Regions from separate parts of the Homo sapiens genome. Here all the other regions are linked to region 3. Evidence: promoter capture Hi-C in 16 types of primary human blood cells and fetal thymus (Javierre and others, 2016). All regions are on one chromosome and are shown on one strand. Each heading gives the region's core, a stretch centred on a gene start or on the middle of the fragment in contact. The rest is flanking DNA. Distances are from core to core; before and after follow the strand shown. Region 1 has its middle 4.8 kb from the start of OSR1. Region 2 has its middle 3.6 kb from the start of MIR4757. Region 3 holds the start of GDF7 (growth differentiation factor 7).

Region 1 (4,012 bases), core at 738-3,237, 1.3 Mb before region 3:
CATGTGTTTAGGACTCGCGAGGACGTCACGTTTCGAATTTGGTAAAAGTCCTCGGTAGCTAGGACCCAACAGTTCTGCCCTCCTGGAAACCCAATGAAGGTGACAAAACTCCCATCTCATTACTGGGAGTCCAGCGCACTCCGCCACCGCGGCTGCAGCTTCTGCTAGCTCGGAGCCTGCGGACTCCAGCCGGCGCGAACTCCGCCGCGACTCTTTCTGGCTCTCTCGCTCACTGCCTTCGGGGCGGAACCGCGGGCGCCGGAGTGGTCCCAGACTCGGCTGGGACCGGGCAGCCTAGAAGAAGGGTCCCCTCAGTAGAGACCAGGCCTCCAGCTCTCCGTCCGGCGCTCCGCTCCACAACCCGCCAGTCGATGTGAGGTCCGTCAAGGGAGCGATCCCTCCGTCTGCCCGGGCTTCCGGGCTGTGGACCGCACTGAACCCAGTCCCGCAGCAAGCCCTGCTGCCGCCTTTTCCTGGGCACGCCTGCGGTGGTGACGGCCCGCTGCTCATGTCTCCACGCCAAACCCCAGCCCCTCTCCCGATTCCTGCTCCTTGGTAAAGCGCCCCAGCCTGTCTTCGGAGTGAAAATTGAGCAGCTTCCAGAAAATTAACTAGAATGTGGTCTATATTGCTTTGAGTTGTTTTGGATTCAAAAAAAAATGAACCCCACCTCTCCGCACCCCATAGCCTAAAAAAAAAAAAAAAAGTCCTCATTTTTTCAAATGAAGTTTGCTCAGCACTTGCGAATTTTTGCTTCCAACGCAACTACTTCCTGTAACTACTTTGCAGACAATTGGGGGTCTGCTCGTTAGAAACCCCCTTACGCATGTACAGGGCTTTCAAATAACCTGGAGATTTAGGCGTCCCTCTGTATTCATTTAGATGATGGATAGTAATGGCTCAATAGTTCCTCTGGAACCATTACGGTCAATCAGGTCAAAATCCAGCTTGGGGGTGGGAAGGATTTTTAAGCACGGGAGGTAGGTAACAGGACTCCTGCGCACATTTGTTCAGATAACACCTCTGATAACGTAATGCAATCCAGGGTCCTTAAGAGAACAGATGCCAGGTGAACGCAAGAGCGGGTGTTTTTTGTTGTGACAGCGACAGACAAGTTACAGTATCAAAACTGAAAGGGAAAGTGAACTGTTTTTCCAGGCAGTTCCCGTTTGGTAAGTTCTTTACGGGCACACAAATGTAACTCTTTCACCTTAATAAATGTAACAATACATACACACACACACACACACACACATATACCTTTGGTTTGTAAAAATATGTGTGACATGAAGCATAAATACTAGCATGGAATTGCATGGGCATACGATCATCGGGAAAATGGAATGATGATGTCTTCTGTTGTGAAGATCAAATGTAAAATGTATGTAAAAGACGGCATGGGTTTTTACTTTTTACACAAATTTGAGTTGTCAGACTATTTTAGACACATCCAGATCTATGTACTAAGGTTAATGAACTTTTCCTTTTTCCAAGGTGTAAATAAGTGCATTAGAAACAAGGCAATGTCTAATCAGCCGGGGATGTTGGAGAACAGTAGTTTGAACGGAATTGTGAATAGTTAGGGTGGAATCCTGCAGATAGAGCCACCTACTGCACCCGCGGCGCTGGGTCCTTCCGGGCTGCACCGGCGGCGGGTGGCGCTGGAGGAAGGAGAGTTCGCGGTAATTAAACATTTCCAGACACCGGAGGGTTATTATCTGCAGAGCGATTTCCGGCGATGGGACTCGGAGAGAGTCCGGCTGCGAGGTTTCGAGATTCTGGGACGCAATCCTAAAGAAAACGTGCCCCCTGCTGGCGAGCAAGCCACATCTCGGGACCCCTTCTTGGAAAACTCGCAAACCCACAGTATCCTTATTTCACTTTGCCCAAGAGTATTTTAGTCCTTCAGTTTTTCTTTTCTCAGTTAGAAGTTTGCTGCTACTCATTTAAAAGTACGCACACGCTTACCCTTCCAAAGAGCAAACGGAGGAGGAATTTCTTCTCGCCACGGGGTTTCTGTTTCCCTGCCCCAAACCAGACGTCCTTGCTCTCAGATGGATGAGGGCTTTTGTTTGTTTGTTTGTTTGTTTTTAAATAATCCGAAATTCCTAGCAACTATCTGCCGCCGTTCGCTTCTGGTCCTGGGAAGACGATGAGCAAAGATCTACTGGGACCCCATCCTGCATTTGCAAGCTCGGTCCGCGTGCCCCTCCCGGCACACCCGGAGGTGAGAAGTGCCCTCCGGTGCCTCCGTCCGCAGCCCCTCGTAGGTCTGCACGTCCTGCTTCGGATCCCAAATCCTGGCTTTCTGAAGAAGCGCGGGAAGAAGAGAGAGAGTCTGTTTCCGTGAATCGATTTCCCTGAAACACGTGAGGTTTCCTATCCTCTCCTTCCTCCCAGACCATTAGATTCCAGTTCCTCTGCTGCTTCCTTTTTTTTTTTTTCGGATTTCCGTACAGAATATTCTAGCAGGACCCTCCCTTGTCATCATAGCTCTAGGTATTCAGATAGAGACCTGAAGAGAGAAATCCTAAGAATATACCTATTAACAAGCTCTTTGGTTAATTCTCTGTCTACAGAGGACTATGCCACATTGCATAGAATGAGTTCCTAAAGTGTCAGGTCCACTCATTGGAGCAAAATACCCAGAGAAAACAAGCAAGAAAAGGGCAGAGAGAAAGACAGATTCCCTACCTGCTCCAAGCTCTTAGAGGAAGGCTGTGTCCTCCTGCTGCCCATCACTCACTTTGCTCCTCTGAGGCAGGGCCTCCCACTTCCCTATCCTGAGCTTGCAGTGAGGGGTGGAAAGGGAGTGGACCCAACTTGGACATTCCAAAGAATTACTACATTCACCAACCCTCCCTAAGTGATGCAAAGCCGCGCTGTGCCTCACCTAATGGATGAGTAGAATTACCTACTGAATAGAAGGAGGCCAGGTGCTTCTGCCTCTTTAGTGTTTATACCAGGGGTGCTTCCTGGCTTCAGACTGTCACCCTGAAGAGGTGCTGAGCCCCCAAGGCGGTGGCCCAACTAGAAGGGATGCTATTGCTCCTGGGAACTTGAAAGGCATCCTACTGGATGTGGCTTTAATACCTGGTGTTCCTCTACCAAGTGCAACTTAAACTTAAGCATCAGTTTTGGGGAGATGAGAGGGATGGAAGGATGACAGATTGGAATTGAGAATGTTCCACAAAGGGAATACAGTGAACTGGGAGGGGACCACCCCATCAGCAAAAATAAATAAATACAAATAAATCTTTCCTTCTCTGATTTCTAGGAAGTTAGACTCAGGAGGAGGAGTCATAGAGTCATATTTGTGCATCTGAGTTACATCACAATGTAGTGGGGATTCTGCACACAGCGGAAAACCACAATCCCTTATTTTAGCCACCCTCAAAAGACAGATATTCTTCCTCCATGGTCTAGGCTGGAAGTGGGGGGACACTTGAAATGCCAGTTCCCACCATAACTCTCTTCCTAGGTGACTCCAGGCAAATGAATTTGCTGGTCATATCTCCAATTCCCTACATGAGAACCTTTCCATGGAAAAGAAAAGCATTTGCTGAAACACTTGAAGTAGATACAAAACAAAAAAGAAAATATATATTAGCATATGATTTTCACTTCAAAATGACCAATGGTCGGGTTTAGTATATTTAAGTATTGGTTTTCATATCACATGTCAACAATAAAGAAATGGAGAGAAAACTTAAAACTAAAGTATTATAATCTATCTATTCCAGATAGAGAGTTTCTGGAATCATGACTTCATTTGCCAAAACTTCATTCTGTAACAAACATTTCAGGAGATTATCTAAGGAGGAATAAGCCATGTATCGTAGTCAGGATAGTTCATTCTTAATTTTCAGAGAAGACAGCTGATGGGAGCTGTGCCAGGCTACCAGATCCATACAGATAGGAAAGGAGATTAGTTCTCAGTGCCCAGGGTCCTGCACAGGCAGCAAAGTGACTAGGAGCAGGAGTGCCACTGCAGGATGCCTGGATAGGGCAT
Region 2 (4,122 bases), core at 681-3,180, 1.3 Mb before region 3:
CAGCTACTTGGGAGGCTGAGGCAGGAGAATCGCTTGAACCTGGGAGGCAGAGGTTGCAGTGAGCCGAGGTCACACCATTGCACTCCAGCCTGGGTGACAAAAGCCAAACTCCATCTCAAAAAAAGAGGGGAAGGGAGGGAGGGGAGGGGAGAGGAGAGGAGGGTAGCATTGGAAAAATGACGCCTTACGTATAGGAGAAAAACAATTCATATGACAGTGGATTTCTGATTAGCAACCATGGAAGCCAGAAGGAAGTAATAACATTTTTCAAATGCTGAAAGAAAGTAAGTGTCAACCTAGAATTCTTGGTGAAATTAACCTTCAAGAATGAAGGAGCAAAAAGACATACTCAGAAGAAGGAAAACTAAAAGGATTTGTCACCAGCATACCTACCCTAAAAGAATGGCTAAAGAAGATAAGTTCTCAAAACAGGAAATAATAAAAGAAGGAAACTTGGAACATCAAGAAGAAAAAAAGAACAATGGAAAAAGCAAAAACATGGTGAAATTCAATAAACTTTACCTTTCCTCTTGATTTCTCTAAATTACTTTGATGGTCAAAGCAAAAACTTAGCATTGTGTAATGTGGATCTCAATGTATGTAGAAGAAATATTTAAGGCCAATGTGCCATAAACAGGGAGGATAAAGGAGCTTAAAGGGAGGTCAGGTTTTTACACTTTTCTCAAACTGTTAAAATGTTTTAACTAGTGAAATAGTTCCATATCTTGATTGTAGTGGTGGTTACAGGAATCTAAACATGTGATAAAATAGCATAACACTACACACACTCATTGTATCAATATCAATTTTCTGGTATGATATTGTACTATCATTATGCAAGATGTAACTAACCACTGAGAGAAATGGAGTGAAGTGTGTATGGAACCACTCTGTAATTTTCTGTAAATCTATAATTATTTCAAAATAAAAAACATTTTTAAAACAGGTGACTGTTCTAGATTAAAAGACACTAAAGACTAATGCAATGTAAGAAGTTTTATTGGTTTCTGATTTTTAAAAATACAAGAGGTTGGAAAATTTGGAGAAACAAATATAGATGGAACATTTGATCATGAAATGATATAAAATTGTTAACTTTCTTTAGTGTCATAATAATGTGGTTATGTAGGATAATGTCTATTTCTAAGAGATATGTGCTGAAATATTTAGGGATGAAATATAATGAAGTGTGGAACTGACTTTCAAATGATTCAGAGAGAAAGACAGAGAGGGAAACAAATAGAATAAAACATTGTCAATTGTTGACTCTATGAGGATAATCTGAGGGTGTGTTTTGTACTATTCTTTCTATTATTCTGTATGTTTGCAAATTTTCATTTTTAAAAATGTTGGAAGGATAGATTGATGGATGACTGTGAGAAAGCAAGTATAGTAAAAGACCAATTGTGAAATCTAGGTGGTAATTGGCTGAAACATTTTCAAATATGAAAAAAGGCATAAACCTACAGACTAAGAATCTGAGAAAACCCCAAGGAGGATAAACTCAAAGAAATCCATTCTATGGATGCTCACTATAAAATTATTTCAATTTTTCTATATGCTTGGAAATTTTCAAATTAAAACATTTGGGGGTAAAGCTGAAGGAATGTATTACAACTGAATGCTTTCCCCAGCACTTCCAATCCTCCTTGGCCCAGTTAAATACACACTTATGACAATTAAAATAAAACTTATCCTTTGCTAGGGGCAAAAGCTTGCCCAGCTTTCTGGCTGGAAAAGCCCTAGCAATGTTTCATACTTTTCCCACAGAGGTAAAGCCCCAGCCCCTGCCATTGTCCCAACTGCCACGCTGAATTCCCAAGAGCACTACTGACTGTCATGGAGAGACAAATGTAACCATGGTCAGGGTGAACTCAAGGATAAGCTGGTCTTCCATGCAGCCACCGAAAATCCAAAGGAAGCAATGCCTCAGGTGAGCAGCCAAGGCCCAGGAGTGGTGAGAAGGGTGGTGAGGGTAAAGAGCCTAATGAATTTTGTGGGACATATAAACTGGGATCTTGGTCAGGTGTGACCGAAGTTGCTGTATTTATTATATTATTAAAAAGGTAAGTGATGTTACTGATTGAGACTTTAAGCTAAGTAAACATATTAAACATTCAAGAGTAAGCACTAAAGAAATTAAGCGAAAGCTTATCATTTTATTCAGAGGAAGTCAGAAAAGGGGCATTAAAACAGTTGGACAACTAGAAACATAAAGTGAGATGGTAGAAGATAACAGCAATATAGACATCACAATAAATGTAAATAGCTTAAACAGTCATACATGTATATGTGTGTACATATATATAATTTTTGTATATATGTATATATAATTTATATATCTTTGATGGAACTACAATAAGAAAATGACAGTTCCACCATCACGGCGGGAGTTTTTAATACACACTAAAGTGTCAGTTAGGAATTAACAGGTAAAGAAATCAAGACATTAAAGATTCTGGATATTAGTCCTTTGTCAGATGAGTAGGTTGCGAAAATTTTCTCCCATTTTGTAGGTTGCCTGTTCACTCTGATGGTAGTTTCTTTTGCTGTGCAGAAGCTCTTTAGTTTAATTAGATTCCATTTGTCAATTTTGGCTTTTGTTGCCATTGCTTTTGGTGTTTTAGACATGAAGTCCTTGCCCATGCCTATGTCCTGAATGGTAATGCCTAGGTTTTCTTCTAGGGTTTTTATGGTTTTAGGTCTAACGTTTAAGTCTTTAATCCATCTTGAATTAATTTTTGTATAAGGTGTAAGGAAGGGATCCAGTTTCAGCTTTCTACATATGGCTAGCCAGTTTTCCCAGCACCATTTATTAAAAAGAATATAGAAGATATGAACATTATAATTAAAAATATGGATCTTATGGATACATAGATCCCTCTGCTAATAATAACTCTTCTAGTATTTCCACCCATCTTAGAGTGTCCATGCTCAACTATTTCAGTGTCCAATGATCTCTCCAACGATAAGGTCATGGAGACTATTCCTTTTGGCTACAGCACAACACATGCTCTGGTCCTTGGCCTACCGTACACCAACAGGGAAATGCTATGTGTACTGTGAGATACCAAAGCAATTCTGAGCTCCGACTGCAAAGACATTCAGTTCTGGACCCAGGTTAATTAAGAAGTGGACCAAATGCCCAAGCAAATTTCAATATTTAAGGCAAAACCCAAATTCTCTGGAAGTTCATTTTCCCCCTCTGGTTGTCAGGAAGCTAAAGAGTCTAGCCATTCCTTCCCCATCTCCACTGGCTTTCTTCCATGCCCCCTATAAAGTTTATCATCTCATGCAACTGTCTACCTACAGGATCCAAGTGGTACCCACTCCTGCAAATGATAGAAAGAAATCCACCCCTTCCCTTGTCATGACAAAAACTCCTTATCTTATCTCACTAGCAAAAAAAGTTGAAACCAAACATTTAAAATGTATTAATTACGCTTTATACATCCCCAGAGACAGCTGTGCTGATGAGAGCCAACTCAGTGTTTGGAAAAGGGAAACAAAAACTTTCAACTCATTCATCCCTCCATCCCATTTTGGGGGGTTAATCCTTTCATATTCTAATCTCTGGAGCTGGAACTAGACTTAGCCAGGAAAAATGACCAAAAAAAATGGCAGCAAATTGCCAGGACTGGGTGACTGGGTGAGAGGACCATTCCTGCAGAAGTCCACATAAAGAACATTGTGTGGCCACTTTTTCTTTAGACTAGGATGCTCTAACACAAGTCAAAGAAAACAAATGGGTCAGGCATGGTGCCTCACGCCTGTAATCCCAGCACTTTGGGAGGCCAAGGTGGGAGGATCACTTGAGACCAGGAGTTCAAGACCAGTCTAAGCAACATAGCAAGAGCTCGTCTCTACACAAAAAAAGTAGAAAAAATTACCAGACGTGGTGGCACACACCTGTAGCCTTGCTACTCAGGAGGCTGAGGTGGGAGGACTGCTTGAGTCGGGGAGGTTGAGGATGCAATGAGTCCTGATCGCACCGCTGCAATCCAGCCTAGGCAACTGAGGGAGAACTTGTTTCAATCAATCAATCATAAGAAAACACAAATCCACAAGGAAGCTTTCACTCTGCAAGCCTGTGTTTAAGCACTTCCCTATCTTTGCAGTCAC
Region 3 (3,980 bases), core at 666-3,165:
CTGAAGCCAAGACAAGGCAAGCGACTTGCTGTCACCCAGGACTCCCCGCGTGTTTGCACAAATCTTAGCCGAGTTGATTTGTAAAACACCCAAACACTGCGGGCGCATGGCTGCAGGGGGAAAGGAAGCCAAGTAACACAGTAGGACCCAGCATCCGCGTCAGGGAGAGACCGGGGGGCTGGCGGAGTGGGGGCGGCGGTGTTTGTCACCGACTCTCCAATCCCAGTCCTAGAAGCAGGGTGGACTATCCCAGCTCGATCATCCCAGATTCCCCAGGCTCCTGCTAGGAGAAGTCCCTCAGCGCCGGCAGCGCTGACCCTGGTCCAGGGGTCCGCCCTTCCCGGTAATGTCAGGCCTTTCTCCTTGGCATAGATCGGCCTTGGGGTCTGCGAGGACTGAACCTCACTAGGCCTCTCTCTCCCACCCGCAAACATTCTCGAGTGTTATGCGGCTCAATGCCCCAAGGTGAGCAGGCGCCGCGTCTCCGCGGTGGCCGAGAGGGCAATGGCTGAGGAGTTCGTTTGGGACGAAGCAGTGGAGCAGGGGAACTGGGGAGCCTGGGCCGGGCCTCTCTGTGGGTCCCAGCGCAGCGCAGCCAGGCAGGCGTCGGGACCTAGGCGGCTTTGGATTCGGCGGGCGACCTCGCTTTGAAGCTGATCACCCGCTCAAGGTGATCACGACGTGCCGACCCAGTCTAGATTTTGAGTTCTGCAGAAAATGCAATTTTAAAGGAAAAGGACCCGCCTGCCCTTCTTCGGCAGTTCGTTTGGCCCAGGCCTTCGATCAGCTGAAAGTTTCCGATCTAGGGGGATGTCCAGGCTGCCGGCGGAGCAGAGCCGATAACCCCCCTCTCCTGCGCGTTCCCCTGAGACTTGGCCTCCGCAACCTGTCCCAGCCGCGGAGCAAACTGCTCTGCGGCCCGCGCGAGTGCGCCCCAGGGCTTCGCCGCTGCCGGGCGTCCCCTCCATCCACCTCGGGACCCGCGCCATCACCGCGGCGGGGTAAGAAGCTCGGAGGCGCCATCCCGGGGCTCTGCGCCGTCCGCTCTCCCGGCTCCTGGCCGCTCACGCACACAGCCGGTAGCTGGTTTTCGTTAGCCGCTGCCCTCGCCCAGAAGGCGGGTGGAAGGTCGCCAGTTGGACGCACAGCCAAACTCTTAGCGCACTCCCGCGCGAGATCCCCCATCACCCGGGGCTGCCGTCCTCATTTCGAGCTCTTTCTAGAGCTTGGCTCCCGCTGAAGCGCAACTTCCGCGCCCAAACCTTGCTTTTACGACGGGCGGTCCGCGTCCAAAGGTCTCTTACAGGCCTGCCCTTTCAGCTCCTCGCCCTCCCTTCCTCCCCTACCGGCCCCCTCCCCTGCTCTGGCCGCCCGCTGCAATCCTTTGGGGTCTGTGGCTGAGTGGGGAACCGCCGACCCGCGATCCGGAACGCGACTTTGAGGCCGCCGGGAGCATCCTGTGGCCTCTCTCTGCGCGGCCACCCGGCCGCGGCGCGAAGCGGTCTGGAGGGCGAGCCCTTCCGCGGCCCCAACTCTGCCGCCCCGTTCCCGGCATTGGGAACCAGGGCAGGGAGGGGGCGGGTGTTTCTCTGCGGGGGAGTGGGGAGGAAGCTGGGCGGGTGCGCGCGGTGCCCCGAGCCTGGAACCACGGAGGGCGCGTTGGTCTTGGGCGGATGGAGGGGGTGTCGCACTGCCGCGGGGAGGCGTGTCGGGAGGCTGGGGCCAGTGGCAGTCGCTTGGCGAGGGTGGGGGCGTAGCGCTGCGGTGGGAGGAGGCGGCTCCGGCCCTGGTCTCCACTCTAGGCCGGGGTGGGGGGCGCATAGCGGCCGCCGGAGCTTTCAGCAGGGGGCGCTGCTCCGGGCGTTGGGCGGGGGTGGGGTGGGCCAGGAGGGGGGGCCGCGGGCTGGCCGCGCACACTTCCCCCATTATTAAACACTATGTTCAAAAGGCGCCGGGGGACTTCCCGGAGCCACGGAGCCCGCGCCGCCCGCCCGCCCGGCCCACGGAGCCCATGGACCTGAGCGCCGCCGCCGCGCTGTGCCTTTGGCTGCTGAGCGCCTGCCGCCCCCGCGACGGGCTGGAAGCGGCCGCCGTGCTGCGAGCGGCGGGGGCTGGGCCGGTCCGGAGCCCAGGGGGCGGCGGCGGCGGCGGCGGCGGCGGGCGGACTCTTGCCCAGGCTGCGGGCGCCGCGGCTGTCCCGGCCGCCGCGGTTCCCCGGGCCCGCGCCGCGCGCCGCGCCGCGGGCTCCGGCTTCAGGAACGGCTCGGTGGTGCCGCACCACTTCATGATGTCGCTTTACCGGAGCCTGGCCGGGAGGGCTCCGGCCGGGGCAGCCGCTGTCTCCGCCTCGGGCCATGGTCGCGCGGACACGATCACCGGCTTCACAGACCAGGCGACCCAAGGTACTTACGCCTCTTCTGTGCCCGCCCATCCCGTCAGGTCCTGGGCTGAGACCAGCCCCGGAGCCGTGCCGCAGCTCCGTTACATTTGGAGCCGCGGCCCCATGCGGCCCACCCTCAGGTGATAGAAAGAAACTTCGCCGAGGCCAACACTCTCCAGCCCGCTGCACCTGGACTGTGGCGAGAGTCGCGGCAGCTCCCGGGGCCCAGTCCCAGAGGGCTGACTGGTCCCTCTCCCAGGTCTCCCTGGCCTTGCAGGCCGGCTGGTCCCCTCGAGGAGGCAGGCGGAGGCCAAGATTCGCTTCTTGGGGAATGGTCTGGAGTGGCCTCGGAGCCCTCAGAGAAGAAAGGAGGGCAAGAGCTGTGTTCCCGGGAGTCACGGCGAGAGGGACTGCACGGTGGTGAGGGTGATGGCTCCTTCCTTGCAGCAATTTCTGCAGCTCCCAGTCTCCTGCGGGCCACACAAATTGGGGGAAGCCCAGGGAAAACTAGGGCAGAGGCAGGTATCAGACTAAAGTAAATGGCCCTGGAGAGGCTGGTGGCATAACCAGGTATGAGGAGTGCCCTGCTCAGCAGGTTGGTCTGGGTGGTGGTGGTTTGTGTGTGTGTGACATGTGCAGCTATGGGTGCCTGTGTCTGGTGCTGGGCCCCTGGGAGAGCCAGAGGTCAAGGATCCTGGTGGTGTGGGGAGGAGAGGCCTGCTGGGGACCCTGCAGGAATGCAGGCCTCTCTTAGACTAAGCACCCCACCTTGTTCTGCCCTGGGCCTTCCAAAGGTAAGATGTAGGTGAGGCTGTGGTGTGGCTGCTGTATGTCATCTGGATTTTATTAATCTCCATTGAAATCATTAAAGCAGACAGATAGAGAAAATTTACCTAATTTCAGGCGGAAATGCAAGTAATTTCGGCCTTAATTCTATCCAGCCAGAGACCCAGCATGGAGGGCAGGAGGGAAAGAAAGGCGAATAGGGCTGGGAAGTGAGCGGGTGGGGCTGAGGCAGCCCTGCTTGGGAGCCACTGACAGTCAGCATACCTCAGGTCCTAGCCTGGGAAGGCAGGCAGAGGCCTTGCAAGTGACCAGGTCATCCATCCCTGCCAGCACATGCCCAGTGCCTAGCACAGACTGCCTTATTTTTGGTACCTGGAAATCTTGGTACCCAATCCCCAAATGGCCCTGTGGTTCGGTTAGAACTATCAAGCCTTCTCTGACGGCCTGACATGGCCCCTGGGCTGGATGCTGGGATACTTATAGGACGCCCTAGTTCTGGTGCACAGGGACAGGGACTGAAGGGTCCCAGGCTGCAGGAGAAGGGGGGTGTGCTGGGCTCTAAGTGGGCACAGGCACCAGAGTCTTCTTAAGGTTGAGCTAGTTCTACCATGGTCTCAGACAGGAGATAAATCCTTTCTGGGGAGCTCAGCTTGGCTGGCTGAGCCTGAGAGGCCTCCTCTCCCTCCTCCCTCTTGGGGGAAACAGAGTGGCAGGGCTGGTGAGCAGGGAGAGGCAGAGGATCTGCAGGGAATCTCAGAGAAAGTGCTCCTCGTGCAGCCCCAGTGTGCCTCTCCGGCCTCCCTCTCCACCCTGA

Evidence for each region. The method cuts DNA at HindIII sites, captures the fragments that hold promoters and counts their contacts. A CHiCAGO score of 5 or more calls a contact.
Region 1: a fragment that was not itself captured here is called in contact with the fragment with the promoter of GDF7 in region 3 in 1 of 17 cell types (total B cells); the score reaches 5.3 in total B cells.
Region 2: a contact is called between a fragment that was not itself captured here and the fragment with the promoter of GDF7 in region 3, in 1 of 17 cell types (naive B cells). The highest score is 5.3, in naive B cells.

What each region holds. Positions count from the first base shown.
Region 1 is chr2:19,361,371-19,365,382 of GRCh38, forward strand. No RefSeq gene overlaps it. Among named protein-coding and RNA genes, the nearest start is that of OSR1, 4.8 kb to the left of the region's middle. RefSeq lists an enhancer at 1,934-2,735. The HindIII fragment of the contact is 5,959 bases long and covers 1-4,012 here.
Region 2 is chr2:19,342,735-19,346,856 of GRCh38, forward strand. It overlaps a transcript of OSR1 not described here. Among named protein-coding and RNA genes, the nearest start is that of MIR4757, 3.6 kb to the right of the region's middle. The HindIII fragment of the contact is 436 bases long and covers 1,713-2,148 here.
Region 3 is chr2:20,665,229-20,669,208 of GRCh38, forward strand. It overlaps GDF7 (growth differentiation factor 7), which reads left to right and starts at 1,916. Exons shown (of 2, transcript NM_182828.4): 1 at 1,916-2,402. The coding sequence starts at 2,012. RefSeq lists enhancers at 659-1,489, 2,476-2,595 and silencers at 1,576-1,685, 1,756-1,805, 1,846-1,995. The HindIII fragment of the contact is 16,143 bases long and covers 1-3,980 here.